7 separate regions of the Homo sapiens genome follow, and all the other regions are linked to region 3. The links are contacts of gene promoters, found by promoter capture Hi-C in blood cells and fetal thymus (Javierre and others, 2016). All regions are on one chromosome and are shown on one strand. Each heading gives the region's core, a stretch centred on a gene start or on the middle of the fragment in contact. The rest is flanking DNA. Distances are from core to core; before and after follow the strand shown. Region 1 overlaps LHFPL4 (LHFPL tetraspan subfamily member 4). Region 2 overlaps IL17RC (interleukin 17 receptor C). Region 3 holds the start of CPNE9 (copine family member 9). Region 4 has its middle 57 kb from the start of LHFPL4. Region 5 overlaps IL17RE (interleukin 17 receptor E). Region 6 overlaps CIDEC (cell death inducing DFFA like effector c). Region 7 has its middle 74 kb from the start of LHFPL4.

Evidence for each region. The method cuts DNA at HindIII sites, captures the fragments that hold promoters and counts their contacts. A CHiCAGO score of 5 or more calls a contact.
Region 1: a fragment that was not itself captured here is called in contact with the fragment with the promoter of CPNE9 in region 3 in 1 of 17 cell types (megakaryocytes); the score reaches 5.3 in megakaryocytes.
Region 2: a contact is called between a fragment that was not itself captured here and the fragment with the promoter of CPNE9 in region 3, in 1 of 17 cell types (M0 macrophages). The highest score is 6.3, in M0 macrophages.
Region 4: a fragment that was not itself captured here is called in contact with the fragment with the promoter of CPNE9 in region 3 in 1 of 17 cell types (megakaryocytes); the score reaches 5.5 in megakaryocytes.
Region 5: a fragment that was not itself captured here is called in contact with the fragment with the promoter of CPNE9 in region 3 in 3 of 17 cell types (monocytes, neutrophils and M0 macrophages); the score reaches 5.5 in monocytes.
Region 6: a contact is called between a fragment that was not itself captured here and the fragment with the promoter of CPNE9 in region 3, in 1 of 17 cell types (neutrophils). The highest score is 5.7, in neutrophils.
Region 7: a fragment that was not itself captured here is called in contact with the fragment with the promoter of CPNE9 in region 3 in 1 of 17 cell types (megakaryocytes); the score reaches 5.5 in megakaryocytes.

What each region holds. Positions count from the first base shown.
Region 1 is chr3:9,524,839-9,528,077 of GRCh38, reverse strand. All of the region lies in intron 2 of LHFPL4 (LHFPL tetraspan subfamily member 4), which reads left to right. Among named protein-coding and RNA genes, the nearest start is that of LHFPL4, 27 kb to the left of the region's middle. The HindIII fragment of the contact is 1,280 bases long and covers 1,237-2,516 here.
Region 2 is chr3:9,927,564-9,930,610 of GRCh38, reverse strand. IL17RC (interleukin 17 receptor C) reads right to left here. Exons shown (of 19, transcript NM_153460.4): 10 at 2,391-2,445; 11 at 2,125-2,306; 12 at 1,981-2,031; 13 at 714-759; 14 at 462-583; 15 at 152-211. Among named protein-coding and RNA genes, the nearest start is that of CRELD1, 4.7 kb to the left of the region's middle. RefSeq lists an enhancer at 1,749-2,248. The HindIII fragment of the contact is 6,275 bases long and covers 1-3,047 here.
Region 3 is chr3:9,702,268-9,705,412 of GRCh38, reverse strand. CPNE9 (copine family member 9) reads right to left here and starts at 1,580. Exons shown (of 21, transcript NM_153635.3): 1 at 1,349-1,580; 2 at 786-826; 3 at 618-664; 4 at 419-522. The coding sequence starts at 1,416. MTMR14 (myotubularin related protein 14) reads right to left here. Exons shown (of 19, transcript NM_001077525.3): 19 at 3,020-3,145. RefSeq lists an enhancer at 1,031-1,941. The HindIII fragment of the contact is 18,760 bases long and covers 1-2,297 here.
Region 4 is chr3:9,494,926-9,498,128 of GRCh38, reverse strand. No RefSeq gene overlaps it. Among named protein-coding and RNA genes, the nearest start is that of LHFPL4, 57 kb to the left of the region's middle. The HindIII fragment of the contact is 1,197 bases long and covers 1,245-2,441 here.
Region 5 is chr3:9,903,077-9,906,045 of GRCh38, reverse strand. It overlaps IL17RE (interleukin 17 receptor E), which reads right to left. Exons shown (of 16, transcript NM_153480.2): 2 at 2,634-2,649; 3 at 1,895-2,014. Among named protein-coding and RNA genes, the nearest start is that of IL17RE, 1.7 kb to the right of the region's middle. RefSeq lists an enhancer at 2,325-2,969. The HindIII fragment of the contact is 3,209 bases long and covers 115-2,969 here.
Region 6 is chr3:9,865,601-9,868,617 of GRCh38, reverse strand. CIDEC (cell death inducing DFFA like effector c) reads left to right here. Exons shown (of 7, transcript NM_001321142.2): 7 at 1,322-1,904. The coding sequence ends at 1,484. Among named protein-coding and RNA genes, the nearest start is that of CIDEC, 13 kb to the left of the region's middle. The HindIII fragment of the contact is 177 bases long and covers 1,329-1,505 here.
Region 7 is chr3:9,478,217-9,481,127 of GRCh38, reverse strand. No RefSeq gene overlaps it. Among named protein-coding and RNA genes, the nearest start is that of LHFPL4, 74 kb to the left of the region's middle. The HindIII fragment of the contact is 2,021 bases long and covers 346-2,366 here.

The sequences.
Region 1 (3,239 bases), core at 627-3,126, 180 kb after region 3:
GCTGAAGGCTGGCTCAGATGATAATTTAGCAATAAAGTATTTTAAAACTAAGGTATACACATTGGGTTTTTTTTAGACATATGCTATTGCACACTATTAGTATATAGTGTAAACATGACTTTATATGCATTGGGAAACCAAATAATTTGTGTGACTTGCTTTATTGCAATATTTGTTTTATTACGGTGGTCTGGAACCAAACTCGCAATATCCCCAGGGTATGCCTCTGTGTGTGTGTGTGTGTGTGTGTGTGTGTGTGTGTGTGTGTTTGTATTTGAAAAATTAATTTGTACAATTATTGGTTTTCTGGGTTTTTAAAAAAATTATTCCGCCACACTAGTCTACTGTATATGGGTTTTGTTTTTGTTTTTCAGACAACATCTGGCTCTGTTGCCCAGGCTGCAGTGCAGTGGCATGATCTTGGCTCACTGCAACCTCTGCCTTCTGACCTCAAGCAATCCTCCCACCTCAGCCTTCCAAATAGCTGAGACTACAGGCGCTTGTACCATGCCTGACTAATTTTTTGTAGAGATGGGGTTTCACCATGTTGCCCAGGCTGATTTTGACTCCTGGGCTCAAGCAATCGTCCCACCTCAGCACTCCCAAATAAGTGAGACTACAGGCATGCACCACGATGCCCACTAACTTTTTGTATTATTATTATTTTTTTTAGTAGTGTCAGAGTTTTGCCATGTTGCCCAGGCTAGTCTCAAACTCCTGAGCTCAAGTGGTCCACCTGCCTTGGCCTCCCAAAGTGTTGGGATTACAGGCATGAGCCACGATGCCTGGTCAAAATTATGTTTTTAAATTTCACAAGTAATATATGAATATACCCACTCTGTAAAAAGCTGAAATATTACAAAAAGACTAAAGTCCCCACCCAAGCCCCACCCAGAGGCCACCACTCTTATAAACTTCATTTCTATCTTCCCTGATCTTTTTCTGCACATTTACATATATATCCATAAGGAAACTATATCATGTCATCTTCTGTGTACCCCTGCTTACTTCTTTCTCCCTTCCCTTTCCTTTCCTTCCTTCTGTCTCCTTCCCTCCCTCCTTCTCTTCCTTCCTTCCTTTCAGTGAAATACATGTACATGAAATTTACCATTTTAACCTTTTTTTTTCTTTTTTTCTTAAAACAACAAAAATTTATTCTTGTTCTGGAGGCTAAGAAGTCCAATATCAAAGTGTGGGCAGGGCCTCATGCCCCCTGCAGACTCTGGGAGGGAAGCTTCCCTGATCTCATCTCCCTTCTTTTGGCTGTCAGCCTTCCTTTGTGTTCTTGACTTACAGCAGCATCACTCCAATCTCTGGTCTTCACGTGTGTGTGTGTTTCTCTTCTCTTCCTATAAGGACACCAGTGATTGGACTTAGAGCCCACCCTAATGACCTTATTTTGTCTTGTGTCTTAATTATATCTGCAGGTACCCTGTTTCCAAATGAGATCACATTCACAGGTACCAGGGATTAGGACTTGAACATATCTTTTTGAGGGAACGCAATTAAACTCATTACATTCACCATCATTTTAAGAGATGCTTGAAGGAGGGAGATGATATGAGGGATGTTAGACCACAGCCGACTACAATTGTGAGCAAAATAAAGACAGTTATTCAAACTATTGTCAGATTTGTACGGGGACATTCTTTTTTCCCGCATTTTCTTATTGTGGTAAAATACACATGACATAAAATTTATCATTTTTACTGTCTTTTGGTGCACAATTCTCTAGCATCAAGTACATTCACATTATTGCTCAGTCATTACCACCATCCATCTCCAGAACTCTTTTAATCTTGCAAAACTGAAACTTTGTGCCCATTAAACACTAACTCCGCATTCCTCCCTCCCCCGAGCCCTGGCAGCTACCATTTCACCTTCTGTCTCTGTGAATTTGATTACTCTAGGTAGCTCATATAAATGGAATCATACAGTGTTTGTCCTTTCATGACTGGCTTATTTATATACCTAGCAAAGTGTCTTCAGGATTCCTCCATGTTGTATCATGTGTCAGAATTTCTTTCCTTTTTAAGGTTCAATATATTTCATTGTATGTATATACCATCCCCTACTTTTTTTAAAACTAAAGGGATCATGCCTACGTATGGTCTTTCTACCTGCTCAATATGTCAGAAAAAGAGAGGTAGTTAAGAGCATGGACTCAGGCCCCAGGAAGGCTAGGTCAGACTCATCATTTAACCTTTCTGTGCCTGTTTCATAACATATAAAAATGAGGTAACAATGAATTAATACACATAAAACAGTTAAAACAGTGTCTGGCATGTTTCCCATTTTTTCCCATTTTTTCAAACGTATAAGCACGTTGGATTTTTTTTAAAATTATGATTGCTTTTTTTCAGATGACGTTGTGTCAAAGAAATCTTGCTCTTTCAGTCCTTAAAGTGCTACCCATTCTTTCTCATTGTTGCAATGCATTTCATAGTATGCATATCCTTTTTATAAAAAACACAGATGAGTGGACTTCTGGTTTCTGGTCAGGGATGTAAGAAGCTTGGAAGCTGCTACTCCATCCTAACAGCAAGTAAAAAGCCAAACAAACTGAAAAATAAACACTCTTGCTAGATCCATGAGAGACGTAAGGTCACAGGGCAAACTGCTGCCCCCAAAATTGGAGCGACAGACAGGTGAGTGCAGAGAATCACAACTTACAGGAGCAGAAGGAACCCATGAGCAGAAACCTTTATGGGAACCAATGCCCAGGCAAGGGAAAACTGAATTGTAATTGACAAATTGCTGGAGGCTGTGTGGACAAGTGTGAGACATTAAAAACTCCCAGGGGACCCAGTCATTAGGGGGGCTCCCACACTTTTGTAAGTTTTACTTCCTGAAGCTCTACCAAGTTCTTACGGTGAATATTGAAGAAAAATCCCCTCATGGTTCTGGCAAGAGCAGGGAAAAAGGAACAATTCTGATGTATGCCAGGCCTGTCCTTGGGAGAAACTAGGTGACTAGAGCCTAACCTGCTGGGATTATCAGAGAGAGGCTAACTGATCTTGGGGGAAGGAAACTCCATCTGCCTCTAGCCATGCTGTCCCACCTAAGGAGGGCAAGAAAAAAACAGCAACAACTTAGAAGCATTTGTGAAATTAACAGTCCAGGGCAAAGGCTCACTAAAAGACGGAGACCTCTTTGTAGGACTATAGAATGCTTCCCCTCTTCCCACATCTTACCACCACATCACTAAAAGCCTACTTACAGCAGTTTCTTTTACCCAG
Region 2 (3,047 bases), core at 463-2,962, 230 kb before region 3:
TGTGCTCCTTGGGGATAGGAACTGTGCTTCTTCTACTCTTAACTTTCCCAGGGCTGAACATAAAATAAGCCTAAATAGACAGTAGGTGAGTGCTAGTTTTAGGCCTGTTGCCCCTAGGCATTGAGGTGGGGCCCTTCTTCCACCAGCTCACCTGCAGACACTGGCCTGACTGCAGGTCTTGTAGTAAGTACTCTCCAAGGCGAGCTGCCCTCTGCCAAGCCAAAGGATGGGGGCACTGTTACCTGGAGGTAGCACCCTTAGGGCAGCACCTACCAGGCTACAGCTGGGTAGAATGAGGTAGAGGGGACTGGGAGACTTTGGTGATGCCGCTGAATATGGCCCTGGTCTGAGTCACCCCCCATGTTCCCAGAGACCGGCACAGGGTGGATGGAGTGAAAATTTGAGGCCAGATGTGAGATGCATTTGGAGAGATCTGTGGAGGAGGGTCGCCCAGTCCTAACCGTGGAGGCTTTGCTGGGTAGTGAAGTACAGCCACTGGGTTCCAAGGCACAGAGGGATCTGTTGTCCTGGGGGCCTCGTGTCTCCAACAGTAGCACATCGTCTTTGAGAGGCCCCAGGGAGTCTGGAAGGGGTGAGAGGCCACTCTGACCAAGACCCATCCTTGCTGGGATTGGCCACTTGCCTGCCTCCCATGCCCTGACCTTCACCCCTAGGAGGTGGCCCTGCCCCAGCTGCCCCCAGGCCCAACTCACCAGCCCACAAGCACTCCTGCAGCTGCAGCTTCTCCGAGCTGTTCACCTGCTGGGAAGAGACCATGGTTAGGGCCACTAAGAAAAGCAAAAGCCAAAGGCAGAAAGACCAGAATGGGGCAGGCAACAGAAGGCCTGTTGGGTTGGGAATCTGCACTCAATCTGACCTGAGGCAGATGTGGATTCAAGGCTGGGTGATTAGGAATCACTACATCTTTCTCTGCCCCAGCCTTGTGAGATCATCTGTATAAAGCGTCTTCTGACCCTAAAGCTGTTTTTATGTCTTACGGAGCATGGTTCCCCTCTCATCTAACCTTCTCAAAGAGATTCCTTTCTCACATGACCACCCTGCTAAAAATTGCAACCCCAGTCCCACCTTATCCCTTTCCCATGGTATTTGTATGCAATTTTAAGATACTATATGATTTATTTACAATGTCTGTTGCCTGCCTTTCTCCATTACAATATAAGTTCTATGAGGGTAGAGATGTTAGGGTCTATCACAAGTGCCTAAAACAGTGACTTGTGCTGCTCAAAAAATCTTGAATGAGTGAATTTTTTTTTTTTTTGAGACGGAGTTTCACTCTGTCGCCCAGTCTCACTCTGTCACCCAGGCTGGAGTGCAGTGGCGCCCTCTCAGCTCACTGCAAGCTCAGCCTCCCAGGTTCACGCCATTCTCCTGCCCCAGCCTTCCTAGTAGCTGGGACTACAGGTGCCCACCACCACGACCGGCTAATTTTTTGTATTTTTAGTAGAGATGGGGTTTCACCATGTTAGCCAGGATGGTCTTGATGTCCTGACCTCGTGATCTGCCCGCCTCGGCCTCCCAAAGTGCTGGGATTACAGGCGTGAGCCACCGCGCCTGGCCGGATGAGTGAATGTTCTTATAATCACCCTTTGAAACTGTAGAGCAACCCATTCTACAGGTATGGAAATAGAATAAGGATAGCAATAATAAAAGTGGCTACATTTATGGAGCATTTAGTCTGTACCGATTCCTAAGGGGAAGCACTTCTCTTATTTCATTGTCACAACCACTCCATGAGGTAGTTACTGTATTATCATCTGCATTAAACAGATGAGGAAACTGACGTTCAGAGAGGTGAAGTGAGTTGCCCAGGGTCCCGCGCACTACTAAAGTAGGCAGTGGAACTCCCATAGAGGAAGCTGGCAACCACTATGCTTTAGCGGCCCAAGAACTAAGACCCCCTTGGCTGGGGGGTCTGCCCAGGTCCAGCCTCCAGCCCAGCACTATGCACCCCTTTCTGACCTGAACACAGAGGTTAGGGTGGCCTTTCAGCAATGGGAACTCGAGAACCTTCTGTGGAAAGAGAGGAATGGGTGGGATCACAAAAGGGGACCCCCGGTTCCCCACTCTCCCCTCACCACGGGAGGTGCCCTCTGCTTCACTTACGTCCACAGTGACGTTCTCCCAGGAAAGCGGTGGGACCAGTGGCTGGCAGGGGTCCCCACCCGGAGCCCGCCAGCACAGTGCCGCTTCTGCGGGCAGCGAGCACGGTGCGTCCAGCAGCCAGCTCTGCAGGGTCAGCAGTTGCAGTCGGGCGGCTTGCCAGAGGTTCTGGTGTGCGCGGGGGTCTGCAAGGAAAGGGCACAGTCACCGCAGGCCAGGTACCCATCGCTCGCAACACCCCAACCCCAGCCCCAGGCCGGTCGGCTCACCCTCCCTGAAGGGGCAGATGTTCGTCCTAACGGAGTCAGGTTCCAGAGGCCACACCTGGAAAGGAAATGGGGGTCTGCTCAGGTCCCCTCCATGGGCATGTGCCTGGCCCTCTGCTGGACAGTGGGGATGCACTCATTCAGCAGGTATTTCACAAACACTTGCTGGGTCTTCCTGCCTTTTACAAAACCTGGAGGTGCTCACATCTATTCTTCCAGCAAACATAATGCTGGGCACTGGCAACATCTTCATTAACAAACTTTTTTTTTTTTTTGAGATAGAGTCTCGCTCTGTCGCCCAGGCTGGAGTGCAGTGGTGCAATCTTGGCTCACTACAACCTCCACCTCCCAGGTTCAAGCGATTCTCCCATCTCAGTCTCCTGAGGAGCTGCGATTACAGGAACATGCCACAACGGCCGGCTAACTGGTTAATTTTTGTATTTTTAGTAGAGATGGGGTTTCACCACATTGATCAGGCTGGTCTCGAACTCCTGACCTCAAGTGATCCACCCGTCTCAGCCTCCCAAAGTGTTGGGATTACAAGCGTGAGCCACCGCGCCTGGCCCATTCAACAGACTTTTAATGAGTGCCTACCATTGTGTCTTAGCAGTATGGCAAGCACAAGAGACCTTGGATAATTAAATTTTTATTATTTTTTTA
Region 3 (3,145 bases), core at 331-2,830:
GGAAAGGGGTCGGGCACCGAGTCTTGGTGAAAATTTTGGGTGGAGGGATGGGCGGCCGTGGACCCGAATTCAGCTTTGGTCTCCTTTTGGGGAGGAGTCAGGGTGGGCTGAGTAGTCAGACGGTCAAGCCTGGGCCGAGGCCAAGTCAGGGGCTGCTGGGGGCAGGGTTGTGTGGAAGGGGTCGGGCCTGAGGTGGAGCTGCGATAGGAGCAGAGTTGTGGGCGGGGCCAGAGCGGGGGACGGAACTGGACCGCATCTCATAAAAGGGCAGGGCTCAGGCTAGAGGGGGCCATTCAGAATGGGAGGGAGGCCTGCGAGAAGAACCAGGCCGGAGGCGAGGCGGGGGTGGGGCCAGCCAGAATTCCGGGCGGATCCAGGTCGGGGGCGGGCCAAGCCAGAATTCCAGGCGGGGCCTCACACATCGAAGCGCAGATTTTGCTTTTCCTCAAAGAAATAGTCGAGGACGAATTTGCGCACGAAGTCTGGGTTCAGCGTGTTATCAATCACCTCGGTCCGTCCGAACTGGGTAGGGGGGTGGAGGGTCAGCGTGGGACGTGCAGACGGGCAGGGGAATTCCCGGGCGACGCCCTGGGCCGGGAGGGGGCTCTGGGACTCACCTCCCGCCACTCCTGGCTGGCCCGGCTCTGCGTGTAAAGCACCACCACTGCAGGTGGGGGCGGGGAGGGAAGGACGTCAGGTCGGCTCCCACCCCTGGCCCCGACTCCACCCGCCCCTGAGTCGCGCCCAGACCCCAAGTTCCCCCTCCCGGTCCTGGAGCCGCCTACTGGGGTCGGACTTGGAGAAGGTATCAAGGTCTAGCAGGTTCCTAGAGAAAAGCAACAGACAGACAGAGTGGATCATCCTGGAGTCCGCCCGCCTCGAGTCGGCTCTGAGCCGGGCACTGAGGAGAGGCATGGGGCCCGCATCGAACCTCTGTCCCCCATGGCTACCCCCAGCCGGGGTCCGCTCTGTCAGCACTCTGGACAGCACCGGAAATCGCTGTCCAGGAACCATGGCTCTGCGGACTGGACGCGAACGCACCCACACTGTCTCCAAGGGCCCAGGAAAGAGGGCTCGCCCCAGAACTTTGTCCTCCTGGGGCCGAGCTCCTACCGGATATCTGCGACCCACCCCCTGAACCCGCAGGCTGAGCCCTTTTTTCGGGGTGGGGCTGCCCAAGACCCCCCGCTTCTCGATCCCACCAGCTACTCGCCCTGTCATCAGCTGTGATTTTCCAGCCAATTTCGCCTCTCCCCGGGGGTCTAGCCCCTGCCCAGGCTGAGCCCCGCGGCTGGCTGGGGCTGGGGCAGTGCCAGTGCCTAAGCCCTCCCCAGCGCGGCCCGCTCACCGGCAGGACACGGTAATTTCAATCTTGGTGGCCGGGACGCTGCGCTCGGAGGCTCCGCCGAGAGACATGGCTGGTCGGGCGACCAGAGCCGCAGGAGGCTGCGAGACCAGGGCTGCTGGGGCTAGGGGCGACGGCAGCGGCGGGGCCGGCCCATGTGCCGCGGTGTCGGCGGCGGCGGCGGCTGCACTCGCTCCAGCCCTGCGTGCGCTCCAGCCGCTCGCGCCCTGACAGTGGCCGCCGGCGGCAGCGGCTCCAGATGGCAGCACAGCCCCGCCCGGCCCTGCGGGCGGCCCCCGCCCCATTGGAGCAGCCTGGAGCCAGCGGGGAACCTCACCCCGACTCCCAACTCCAACCCACACCTTGGTAGAGTCTGCCCTGCGCAAGTCTCTGGGGTGGAAACCCAAGCCCCCTAGAGTTGTCCATGATGCTGAAACATTTGGGGCACCTGGTGGGCACTGGAATTGTTGCCTCTTACTGAGCCACTCCCTTAGTGTTTCTGTCTTTTCCCACTCCCAGCCTGCCTAGGTCTCTGAATAGGAAAAGTACATCTCTTAGTAGCTGTGTGACCTTGGACAAGTTACTCAACATCTCTGTGGCTCAACCGTGAAAGGCCGTCAGAAAGGCCTTTAACAGCAGCTACTTTAGGTGCTGTAAAATTTTACTGAGATAACCCAAGGAAAACACTTAGCACACAGCAAGTGCTCAGTAAACATTCACTGGTATTTATGATTTGTCCTCTGGGTATTCACAATGATGACAGTAAATGGTGGCTGTTGAGCACCGTGCAAAGCTGTCTGCCCATGCCTTTAACCCTCACGACTTTCATGGCGTTACAGATGCGGACACACTCTCATGACGCAATCTACTGTAGGTTACACTGTAGAAGAGGGTGGTGGTCAGCCAGGCTCTCACCCACCACACATGCACACCAATTGCTATCTCCAAAGCTTCAGAAGCCAGTCCTTCCTCCATAGGCAGGGCTCAAGGTAGGGGATGCAGGTCACCCGTACCAGGACCCTGCTGCCTACAGAACTTGTTAAAGATGAAGATCCTGGTCAGGTACGGTGGCTCATGCCTGTAATCCCAGCACTTTAGGAGGCCAAGGCAGGCAGATCACTTGAGCTCAGGAGTTTGAGACTGGCCTGGCCAACATGGTGAAACCCCATCTCTACTAAATACAAAAATTAGCTGGGGATGGTGGCACGTTCACGTAGCTACTCAGGAGACTGAGGCAGGAGGATCGCTTGAACCCAGGAGGCAGGGGTTGCAGTGAGCCAAGATTGTGCCATTGCACTCCAGCTTGGGTAACAGTGAGACTCCATCTCAAAAAATCTGAAAAAAATGAAGATCCTCCAGCTCCTAATTCCCAGGCAACTTCCTTAGCAACCCTAAGGCTAAAGCTCAGGCAGCCCTGGGAATGTGCACAGCTCATCAGGCTCTCTAGGTGACTAGGACCTGCTTAGGCCCGAGAACCACTACTCTCAACAGTCTTGAGTGTTGTCCCCACTGCAGGGACTACCATGGCTCATGAGTGGAGAGGTATACCTGTCGCCAGTTCTCTTCCTGTTTCACCTGCCCTCCACATAAAAACCCCTTGTCCAGCACAAGGAAGGACAATGAGAACCTTCCTAGTAGCTCCACAAAGACAATAACCAAATGATGACACAAGAGTGGCTATTCAAAAAGACTTTGATTTTATTTTGTGATCTGTGTCAAACTGCCTCATTCTCAGTGCAGGTGATCCCTCCTCCCCAGAAACAAGAACTGACAGGTAGGGTCTTTGTGAAGTCATGGCTT
Region 4 (3,203 bases), core at 594-3,093, 210 kb after region 3:
GCCATTTTCAATCCTGGCTACATCCTCAAGAACACCTCATGGCCCAACGTGGGCTGCTGGAGCTCCAGTCACCTGGTCCACATTTCATTTGAAGACTTCTGGAAATTCCATAGGACTGTGTCACTTGGGCCACATAACAGTAAAGGAGGCTGAAAAAGTGTGGTCTGTTATCTCGGCGCATTGCCAGCCCAAATAAAACTGGGGTTCTTGGCCGGGCAAGGTGGCTCATGCCTGTAATCCCAGCATTTTCAGAGGCTGAGGTGGGTGGATCACCTGAGGTCAGGAGTTTGAGACCAGCCTGGTCAACATGGCAAAACCCTGTCTCTACTAAAAATACAAAAATTAGCCAGGCATGGTGGTGCGTGCCTGTAATCCCAGATACTCAGGAGGCTGAGGCAGGAGAATTGCTTGAACCCAGGAGGCGGAGGTCGCAGGGAGGTGGGATGGCGCCATTGCACTCCAGCCTGGGCAACAGAGCAAGACTCCGTCTCAAAAAAAAAAAAAAATAGGGTTCTGATACAAAGGAGAAAGGAGTGAATAGAGAGAGGGATACAGTAATCTCTGCACACCTCTGACAGCACAGGCACGACTTGTCCAAGTCCATACAGGCAGAAAAGAGTAGAGCCTCATCTGCTCTAGCCAGAGTGCTCAGTCCAGTCACTTTGCCTCTCTCTAAAGCCCCATTGAATAAATAGAGAAAACAATAGTGACTCCCCCAAGGGAAGCTGTAAGCAACATACCAGGGAATATATGCACTTTGCTCTGCAGGGTATCTGGCACGCTGTAATGTGCGCAGTACCAGGTAGCTACATTGAAGACTTGGAAATGGAGTCCTCTTCCAACACATTTTAAGCACTTAGTGTATGCTAAGCACTTAAGCTAGAAAAAAAATGAGCAAAACAGAGATGCTGTCTTAAGCATAATTCTGGTTGGGGAGATGAACATGTGAAAATAACGCATGACTTGCCACATGCAGGGTATTGTGGGTATCCTAGGCAGGAATACTTTAAATGGCTTTTGGTGACGTGGGCAGCGTAGGAGGAGGTCTTGCTGTAGGATGAGAAGTTAGGCAGGAGGGGTCAGGAAGGTCAAAGAGAAGGCAGCTTGAGGAAAAAGACTGAGGTAGGCAGCAGAACTGTGTATGGAGGACGAAAAGCAACTTAGTTTGAAATGTGAAGTACGAGGCAGGGAGGAGTCAGAGATGAGTCTAGAGAGACAGGCGAGGGCCAGACCATGAGAAAGCTTGGGGGCCATGGACAGGAGTTTGGACTTAAGAGCAATGGGGAACCACTGAAGGATTTGAAGCAGAAGGAAAAATGACTCAATTTGCATTTTAGAAAGAGCACTCTGGTGGTAGCATTAGGGGGCTGGATTAGGGGTAGACTGTTAGCCCATTTCTGCATTGTTATAAAGCCATACCTGAGACTGCATCATTTGTTTTATTTATTTATTTTGAGATGGAGTCTCCCTCTGTTGCCCAGGCTGCAGTGCAGTGGCACAATCTCAGCTCACTGCAACCTCAGCCTCCCTGATTCAAGTGATTCTCCTGCCTCAGCCTCCTGAGTAGCTGAGATTACAGGTGTGCACCACCACACCCGGCTAATTTTTGTATTTTTAGTAGACATGGGATTTCACCATGTTGGCCAGGCTGGTCTCAAACTCCGGGTCTCAAGTGATCCACCCGCCTCAGCCTCCCAAAGTGCTGGGATTGCAGGCATAAGCCACTGCACCTGGCCTGCATAATTTATTTTTATTTTTTTGAGACAGGGTCTTGCTCTGTCACCCAGGCTGGAGTGCAGTGGTGAGATCACAGTTCACTGTAGCCTCAACTCCCAGGCTCAAGCAATCCTCCCACCTCATTCTCCCAGGTAGCTGGGACCATAGGCACCACCATGCCTGGCTATCTCTTTTTTTTTTTGAGATGGAGTCTCACTCTGTTGCCAGGCTGGAGTGCAGTGGCATGATCTCAGCTCACTGCAACCTTTGTCTCCCGGGTTCATGCAATTCTCCTGTCTCAGCCTCCCAAGTAGCTGAGACTACACACGTGCACCACCACGCCCAGCTAATTTTTGTATTTTTAGTAGAGATGGGGTTTCACCATGTTGGCCAAGATGGTCTCGATCTCTTGACCTCGTGATCCACCCACCTTGGCCTCCCAAAGTGCTGGGATTATAGGCGTGAGCCACTGCTCCCGGCCTTATTATTATAATTTTTTATAGAAACGGGGTCTTGTTATGTTACCCAGGCTGGTCTCAAACTCCTGGGCTCAAGCAATCTTCCTGTCTCAGTCTCCCAAAGTGCTGGGATTGCAGGCATGAGCCACTGCACCTGGCCAAACTGGGCAATTTATAAAGAAAAGAGATTTATTTTGGCGCATGGCTCTGCAAACTGTACAGGTAGCATGTTGCTGGCATTTGCTTCTAGTGAGGCTTCAGGAAGCTTACAATCATGGTGCAAGGTTAGGGGAAGCCAGCGTGTCACACGGCAAGGGCAGGAGCAAGACAGAGAGAAGAGGGCAGTCCCAGGCTCTTAAACAACCAGATCTCATGTGTGTGAATTAACTGTGCGAGAACTCACCCATCACCAAGGGGATGACACTAAACCATTCATGAGGGACCCACCCCCATGATCCACTCACCTCCCACCAGGCCCCACCGCCAACACTGGGGATGACATTTCAACATGAGGTTTGGTGGGGACAAACAGCGAAACCATATCAGAGACCACTTCAGTAAAAGAGAAACCAGAAGCCTGGCCTGAAACAAGGAGGTCGCAGTGGGTCTAAGAGAAGTAAGAAGTTCCATCTTCAGGAAGTAGAAGGGAACCAACTGACTATGGGAATAACACACAGGCTGGCAAAAAGAGGGTTAAAGTTTTTGCTTGGGGACTAGAAAGATCTGCCAGTATAGCAGGGGAGCAAGATGATCAGTTCCGTTTGAGATGTGCTAAGTTTAAGATGCATGTGAGATGCCTTGGTGGAGTTGTCCAGCAGTCAGCTGACATATGGATTTGGGAGCTCAAGAGAAAAATCTGGGTCAGAAGCATCGGTATCCAGGTAGTGGTGGAAACTGGAAGCATAGAGGAGCCTGCTCTGGGCGACTGTGTGGTGTGGAGAGAGCATGGAGCTCTGGAATGCTGGAGAGCACTGCAGGATAAAGCACTGTCAGAGGAACAGATGTCCACAAAGGAGAGGGGTCAGGAGG
Region 5 (2,969 bases), core at 470-2,969, 200 kb before region 3:
ACTCCCAACCTCAGGTGATCCGCCCGCCTCGGCCTCCCAAAGTGCTGGGATTACAGGCATGAGCCGGCCTGATAGTAAGTCGTTTTAAATCAAGGAGGGTAAGGATGTCAAGCTTCTTTAATCTTGAAAATTATAAAGCAATCAAGAAAAGATTAATTTCTTAAGCAGAGAAAAAGCTATATATACAAAGATATTCATTTTAGCATTCTTTAATTTTTATTTTTTGGAGACGGAGCCTTGCTCTGTCACGCAGGCTGGAGTGCAGCGGCGCGATCTTGGCTCACTGCAATCTCCGCCTCCTGGCTTCAAGCGATTCTCCTGCCTCAGCCCCCAGAGTAGCTGGGACTACAGACGCCTGCCACCACGCCCAGCTAATTTTTTGTACTTTTAGTAGAGACGGGGTTTCACCATGTTAGCCAGGATGGTCTCGATCTCCTGATCTCAAGATCTGCCCACCTCAGCCTCCCAAAGTGCTGGGATTACAGGCGTGAGCCACCACGCCAGTCCCTGCCTCTCTCTCTTTTCTTTCTTTCCTTCATTCCTTCCTTTGTTCCTTCCTTCCTTCGTTCCTTCCTTCCTTCCTTCCTTTCTTGACAGGATTTTGCTCTGTCATGGAGGCTGGAGTGCAGTGGCACAATCACTGCTCACTGCAGTCTTGAACTCTTGGGCTTAAGCAATCCTCTCACCTCAGCCTCCTGAGTAGCTGGGATTACAGGCATGCACCATCACACCTGGCTAATTTTTGTATTTTTAGTAGAGACGGGGTTTCACCATGTTGGCCAGGCTGGTCTCAAACTCCTGACCTCAGGTGATCTGCCCGCCTCAGCCTCCCAAAGTACTGGGATTACCGGCATAAGCCACTGTGCCCAGCCCTGTAGCATTATTTCTAACAACAAACAATTAGAAAAATTAAACACTGCCTATTCTTTTTTTTTTTTTTTTTTTTTTTTTGAGACAGGGTCTCACACTGTCATCCAGGCTGGAGTGCAGTGGCGCTATCTTAACTCACTGCAACCTCCACCTCCTGAATTCAGGTGATCCTCCCACCTCAGCTTCCCAAGTAGCTGGGACTTCAGGTGTGCACTACCACATCCAGCTAATTTTTGTATTTTTTTGTAGAGATGGGGTTTGGCCATGTTGGCCAGGCTGGTCTCAAACTCCAGGACTCAAGCGATCCACCCACCTTGGCCTCCCAGAGTGCTGGGATTACAGGTGTGAACCATCATACCTGGCCCAGAAACTGCCAATTCTTTTTTTGGAGATGGAGTTTTGCTCTTGTCGCCCAGGCTGGAGTGCAATGGCATGATGTCGGCTCACTGCAACCTCCACCTCCTGGGTTCAAGTGATTTTCCTGCCTCAGCCTCCTGAGCAGCTGGGATTACAGGTGCCTGCCACCAGGCCCTGCTAATTTTTTGTATTTTTAGTGGAGACAGGGGTTTCACAATGTTGTCCAGACTGGTCTCGAATTCCTGACCTCAGGTGATCAGGCTGCTTCAGCCTCCCAAAGTGTTGGGATTACAGGCGTGAGCCACCGCGCCTGGCCTAGAAACTGCCAATTCTTAAGCAATGTAAGGGCATTTAGTATGTACCAGGCACTGAGCTGAGCAATTAAAATATAGAGTAAGAAAGAAGATCCTGCTCTACAAATAGATGGTAATAACAATAAATCCATAGCTTTTAATTCCAAGAATCTCAGCTGAAAAAAAACCTTCATAAAATTGTACAATTGTATTTGTGAATATCAGTCATAGCGTGCTATTTTAGGATAATCCAAGTCCCAGTTGAGGTTAAAACAAGACAAATATCTGTTCTAGTAAGTCCCACTTGCTCAGCCTAGGTGGTCCCTCAAAATGTTCTCTTCACTGAGAATGGCCCAAGGGGCTGTTTCTCATACCTGAGCCACCTGACAGCAGATGCTGGCACAAACAGCGGGAACAGTGCCAGACTCGCACACACCAAGGCTTTGTGGAGAAGAGGGCCCACCAGGTGCGGCAAGGGATATAGGCAGAACTTCCTGGGAAAGATGGAAGGGAAAGCAAATGATAGGGTCTAAGAAGGTCCCTCCTACCTCCAACAAGCTGGATTTGAGGCCAAGCTCTGTCACATCCTGGAAGTATGACTTTGGGGGTTACAGGACCTGTCTAAGGATCAGATTCCTCATTCATAAAGCGGGTCTGTTATAAAAATCAAAATTGTAGTGTATGGGAAAATGTCTTGTGAAGTAGAACATACCATAAAATAGGAAGGATTATTGTTGTATTACTGATAGAAGTGAGGGATCAGTTAAGGGGAGGAGCCAACATATATGGAGAACCTGGAGATTTACTCATGTTTCTCATCTAATCCTCTCTACAGATCAGAAGCAACACTGCCTTTAGTGTACAATCATTTCTACTATGCTACTACCCCTCAGAAACTGAGGGTCAGTTGGAGGGGTTAGGTGCACAGTCTGAGGCCACACGGGAGTCTGGCAGAACTGCAATGTGAACCCAGGCTTGTCATGATTCCAAATTTTTCCTTGATATTGTGCTACTTCCCGGGTTGGGAACTGAAAATTAGAATGGAGGGCTTGCTAGGCATCTGCAAAAATAGTGGGCGTGGGGAGGAGCAATGGGGCAGGAAATGCGACTCACCAGTGAAACTGTCATCCTGAGGCACAGGGCCCAGTAGGGAAAAGAAAGGAAAGAGCTATTATTAGGAGAGACTCCCATAAGGCACATTCCTGGGGTCTTTGCTTCAAATCAGCAAATTCTGAGCCCCATAGCTAATAGCCCATACCTTCTGGCTCTTATCTTCCCAGCTCCACCCTGTCCAGGCCCTCAGCACAAAGGACCTTGGCTACCCCTTTGAGACTAGGTAGAGGACACATCAAAGCTGCCACCAGAGCACAGGGACTGCGGAGGTAGCACAGGGCAGGCAGGGGAGTGGGGAGCTTTATGGCTGTGCCAGGCAGGTGTCCCTACCTGGCA
Region 6 (3,017 bases), core at 168-2,667, 160 kb before region 3:
GAACCCGCTCCCGCTTCCCCATTTCCCCTACTTTCCAAACATCCAACCCCATGTTAATTGCTTTATGCTATTTCAGCCTTATGACCCTGGGTGGCAGGTGCAATCCCATTTTACCCATGAGGAAGCTGAAGCTCAAAGCTAGAGCAGTTTGCTGAAGTTCACCCAGCTAATAAGACTGGATTAGGACTTAGGCCTGCCTGATTCAGGTTCTGTTCTCAGTACATGCTCATGCCAGGCATGGATGTCTTCATGTCCAGCACTCTGAACATGAGCTAGACTGCAGGTGGCTTGGACAGGCCTCAGAGTCTAGAACAGAGTGTCTCAAGGTGCAGAACCATGTTATGGAGATTAATCTGGTTGGTCCAAAGTAGTAGTAGAAAAATAAAAGCCTTATGAAATGAGCTGGGGTTTTGCATGAGAAAGTAGGGAGGTTCCGGGCATCTCAGTTAAGGTGGAATTGCAGGTCCTCGCACTAATCTTGATCCCATCTGCAGCATCTGTTCCTATTTGCACATCGCTCTAGAATTGATGAAATGCTTTTAGTGCTACCACCTCAGTGGTATTCAAATGTTATTAATGAAGAAAACAAACATAATGAAACCAATCCCTTCCAGGCCAGCATGGGAATAAGGGGGTGCAGGGAGGGGGTACACTCTTGTTTTTATTTATTATGTATTTATTTATTTTTGAGACAGAGACTCACTCTGTCACCCAGGCTGGAGTGCAGTGGCACAATCTCAGCTCACTACAACCTCTGTCTCCCAGGTTCAAGTGATTTTCGTGCCTCAGCTTCCCGAGTAGCTGAGATTACAGGTGTCTGCCACCACGCCCGGCTAATTTTTTGTATTTTTTAGTAGAGACGGGGTTTCGCCATGTTGGCCAGGCTGGTCTCAAACTCCTGACCTCAAATGATCCACCCACCTCGGCCACCTAAAGTTATAGGATTACAGGCATGAGCCACCAAGCCCAGCCTTGTGTTTTTTGTTTGATTGTTTTTTGAGACTGAATCTTGCTCTGTCACCCAGGCTGGAGTGCAGTGGTGCCACCTCGGCTCACTGTGACCTCCGCCTCCTGGGTTCAAGCGATTCTCCTGCCTCAGGCTCTGGAGTAACTGGGATTACAGTCACCCACCACTATGCCTGCCTAGTTTTTGTATTTTTAGTAGAGACAGAGATTCGCCATGTTGGCCATGCTAGTCTCAAACTCCTGACCTCAGGTTACCCGCCCTCCATGGCCTCCCAAAGTGCTAGGATTACAGGCGTGAACGCCATGCCCGACCTACTTCGTGGTTTTGACTTGCGTGCCCTCTCATTCCACCCAGGGAAGCTTTCCGCTGGGCCCTCTTCAGCATGCAGGCCACAGGCCACGTACTGCTTGGCACCTCCTGTTACCTGCAGCAGCTCCTCGATGCTACGGAGGAAGGGCAGCCCCCCAAGGGCAAGGCCTCATCCCTTATCCCGACCTGTCTGAAGATACTGCAGTGAAAGCCCAAGTCCTTGGAAGCTTTCCCCAGTGAAGGACTGACTGGGGGCCTCACGCTTAACTGGTAGTGCCCACAAGCCTGGCAGCTGTAGAGCCGCGAACCTCCCCACACCTCCCTCACCGCGCAGGACCCTGAGTGAGGAGGAGGAGCTGGAAACCTGGGGTGGGTTGGCCAAAGGAGAACCTCAAGCTCCTGGCCTGATCCAGCTCCTTCCTGCCCAAGGCAGCTTAGCCCATCCAGACTGGTCCTGAAGTCTGTCCCTCCATTGGCATGAAGTCTGCCCCTTAGCAATCTGGCCTCGCAGGCTGTACTTTCATGGTGCTCTCTACCTTCTGGCCCCCATCCCGGAACATTCCTGAGTGAATTCGCAAGCGCACTAGCATGTGATATTAGGGAGTTTGCAATAAATTATTGAGGCTGATGTATCTTCTTTGCCTGTGTTCTTTGGGGTGGGGTTTTATCTGGAAGGTTGGAGGGGGCTAAAGGAAGAGACGAATCTATTGTCAAAGTATTCTCTTTAATGTAGGATTACAGCTAATGGCACTTTTTCTACCAAAGAAGAAAAAAAAAAACAGCTGGGCACAGTGACACGTGCCTGCAGTCCCAGATACTCAGCAAGCTGGGGTGGAAGCATCCCTTGAGACCAGGAGTTCAAGGCCAGGCTGGAGCACAATAGCAAGACCCCAGGCTCCTTAAAAAACAAAATTGCAGTTGATTTTGAAACTAAAGTCAGCTGAATTTGAGGCTTGAGCTGACCATGTAATTGATACCATAAGTAACAATTTCCTAATTAAATTCACCTATCAGAGGAGCTTCAATTGAGCAGGTGGGATTAAGTCACTCTTCTAATTTCTCAGTGTCCCATTTTATAATAACCGTTTAAGTGGTTAGGTGAAAAAGTACTACTCAAGCTGTAAGGCATTTCTCCATCAATGCCCATCCTAACTTGCCAGACAGCTTATCTTTCATGTTCAGGACTTTCAACCTCGGGATTTCAAAGTGGGCTCATAGGTAGCCCCAAAGAGTAGGAGCTTCTCATCAGTGTGAGCTGGCATTTTCCAGTATTGGACAACTCAAGACAAGCATGAAAGGCTGAACTTAGGCTGGGCATGGTGGCTCACGCCGTAATCCCAGCACTTTGGGAGGCCGAGCCAGGCAGATTACCTGAGGTCAGGAGTTCAAGACCAGCCTGACCAACATGGTGAAACCCGGTTTCTATTAAAAACAAAAAAATTAGCTGGCCAGCATGGCAGGCGCCTGTACTCCCAGCTGTTTGGGAGGCTGAGGCAGTAGAATCGCTTGAACCTGGGAGGCAGAGGTTGTGGTAAGCCAAGATCGTGCCACTGCACTACAGCCTGGGTGACAGAGCGAGACTCCATCTCAAAAAAAAAAAAAAAAGGCTGAACTTGTAGAACTTGTAGGTGACTGTTTTATTTAGTCTGTGACTGAAAGATTTAAAAACTTGGCCAGGTGCAGTGGCTCATGCCGGATATCCCGGCACTTTGGGAGGCTGAGGCAGGAGTATCGCTTGAGG
Region 7 (2,911 bases), core at 107-2,606, 220 kb after region 3:
AAGGGCCAGACTGCTGTTTTTAAGACAGTAAAGGGTACCATATACTTTTTCAGCTAGGTAAGTGATTTCTGGTCATAGTGTCACAGCATCTCTAGCTGTTTCTATTTGTTTTCTGGGTTAACTGCAAAATTTCCAAAACTGTTGGTTTGGGTCTGCCACTTAAAAGAGAGAAATCTTGAATAAGTTGTATCTTCTGAACTTATACCTACCTTGCACATTGTTACATGTAAATGAGGTAGCTGATGACTTAAGTGGAGTCCAGGAAAGTGTAAAGTGACATAGAAGGTGCCACTGTTGCACTGGCCTCTTTAATTAATATTGTCTAGCTTCTATTTACACCAAGCTTGTCCAACCCACAGACCACGGGCTGCACGTGGCCCAGGATGGCTTTGAATGCGGCCTAACACAATCATAACTTTCTTAAAATATATATATATTTTTAAGCTCATTAGCTATTGTTAGTGTATTTTACATGTTGAATAATTCTTCCAGTGTGGCCCCGGGAAGCCAAGAAGATTGGACACCTCTGATTTACACCATATCAAAAGCAAAGTCCCTAGCAACACAGTAAGTACTTGAAAAGAATAGCAAATAGGTTAACTCTGAATGGGCAGTTGACTGTCTTACCTTGATATTCTCAGCACCTCAGATATAGCCTAGCACACAGTAGGTGTTCAGCCAATGGTCATGGAACAGAACCTTCCAATTATGGCAGAAATCAGTTAGTTTTATTCATTATCAGAAGCCCAGTGCTATAGCTGAAACACTGTACTAGGTCTCAATTTCTCATCTTTAACTTCTGGCATTTGGCTTGCTTTCTTCACAGAATTATGAGTCAAAATAAGACACTGTATATGGAAACACTTTCTAAAGATCATGCACACTATTCTCTTCCTAACCCAGGTAGAATCAGGTTGTGGTTGGTGGTAGGTTACCTAGGTATTCCTAGGGCATTTTGGAGGGATCTTCTAATAAAACAAGTGGTTTTGTTATGTTTCCACTTTCTATTTTCTTTTGAGACGGAGTCTCGCTCTGTCGCCCAGGCTGGAGTGTAGTGGCACGATCTCGGCTCACTGCAACCTCTGCCTCCTGGGTTCAAGCGATTCTCCTGCCCCAGCCTCCCAAGGAGCTGGGATTACAGGCACGCACCACCACGCCCGGCTAATTTTTGTATTTTTAGTAGAGACAGGGTTTCACCATGTTGTTCAGGCTGGTCTCAAACTCCTGATCTTGTGATCCGCCTGCCTTGGCCCCCCAAAGTGCTGGGATTACAGGCATGAGCCACCACGCCCAGCCTTCCATTTCTAAACTCCTTCAACTAATAAATAGCATCTTCATCTTTGAATCCCTTATGTGCTTTGCAAACTGCAGTCTACCTTAGTTACTCAGTAAACATTTGTCAAACAAATGTTAGAATACTGCCAATTCAATCCATTGGCAAGTTCTGCTGTGTACTTGCAAAACATATCCTGACTCCAATCACTTCTTATCCCCATCATTACCGTCTTAATAGAAGCCACCACTGCATTGTTGCTTGCCTGAACAACTGCTCTACCTTCCACACCAGTTTCTCAGCTCCTATTCATCTCTTCACCAACAGGATCAAAACAATCAGAGTAATTTTTAAAAATCAACCAAATATAAATTAGACAATGTCACTTCTCTCCTTAAAATCCTGCAATGACTCCTCCACTGTACTTACTGAATGCAGATTATTTAAATTATACCTACAAGGTTCTACATTAGAGACCAGCAAACTACAGCCTGCAAACCAAATCCAACTTGCCACTTGTTTCCTGTAAATAAAGTTTTATTGGAACATAGCCACATACTGTCTATGCCTGCTTTTGCACTGCAATGGAAGAGCTGAATAGTTGTTTTTTTTTTTTTTTTTTTTTTTTTTTTTGAGACAGAGTCTCGCTCCATCACCCAGGCTGGAGTGCAGTGGAGTGACCTTGGTTCACTATAACCTCCTCCTCCCAGGTTCAAGAGATTCTCCTGCCTCAGCCTCCTGAGTAGCTGGGATTACAGGTGCGCACCACCACACCTGGTTAATTTTTGTATTTTTAGTAGACAGGGTTTTGCCATGTTGGCCAGGCTGGTCTCGAACTTCTGACCTCAAGTGATCTGCTCTCTTGGGCCTCCCAAAGTGCTGGAATTACAGGCATGATTCGCACCCAGCCAAAGGGCTGAATAGTTATGACAGAGACCATACATGGCTTGCAAAGTCTAAATATTTACTATCTGGCCCTTTATAGAAAGAGTTTGCCGACTCCTGCTCTACATGATCTGTCCCCTATCTCCCTCTTACAGGATCTTCTATCCTCTTTCCCAGCCCCATCCATTTATTACATCTTAACCAAGCTTTTTCTACCACAGAGTCTGCAACGTTCAAGAATGAATTTCACTCACATCGTCCCAGGACTGCCTCCTTGTCACTGAAGTCTCAGTTTAAATGTCAACTCCTCAGAGACTTTTCTTGACCAACCAATCTAGAGTGGCTCCTTCAACTGTCTTAGTCACATATCTGCTATGAAACAATTAACATGGCAATGACTATTTAAAATTATATACTAGTTTAGTTCTCTCCTCCACTAGAATGTAAACTCCATGAAAGAAGAGACCTTACTTTGCCCACCCCCAATCAGCATTCTAATCACCATAAGCCCAGCACCAAAAACAATGTCCAGCATTGTTTTTGAATGAAAAAGACCAATAAATAGTTGCTGAATGAATGAGGCCAAGGTCAGGAACACCACTCAAGTTCAAGGCAGTTTTTAATGTTCACTTGCCCTGCTGCAGGTTTGCCTTCACACTGTCCTGACTGCAATCATAAAAAGCGAAGGAAGATCAGACAGTATTCCTGGCCCCATTATCATGGGCAAAACAACTCCACCAAGGGCACATTCTC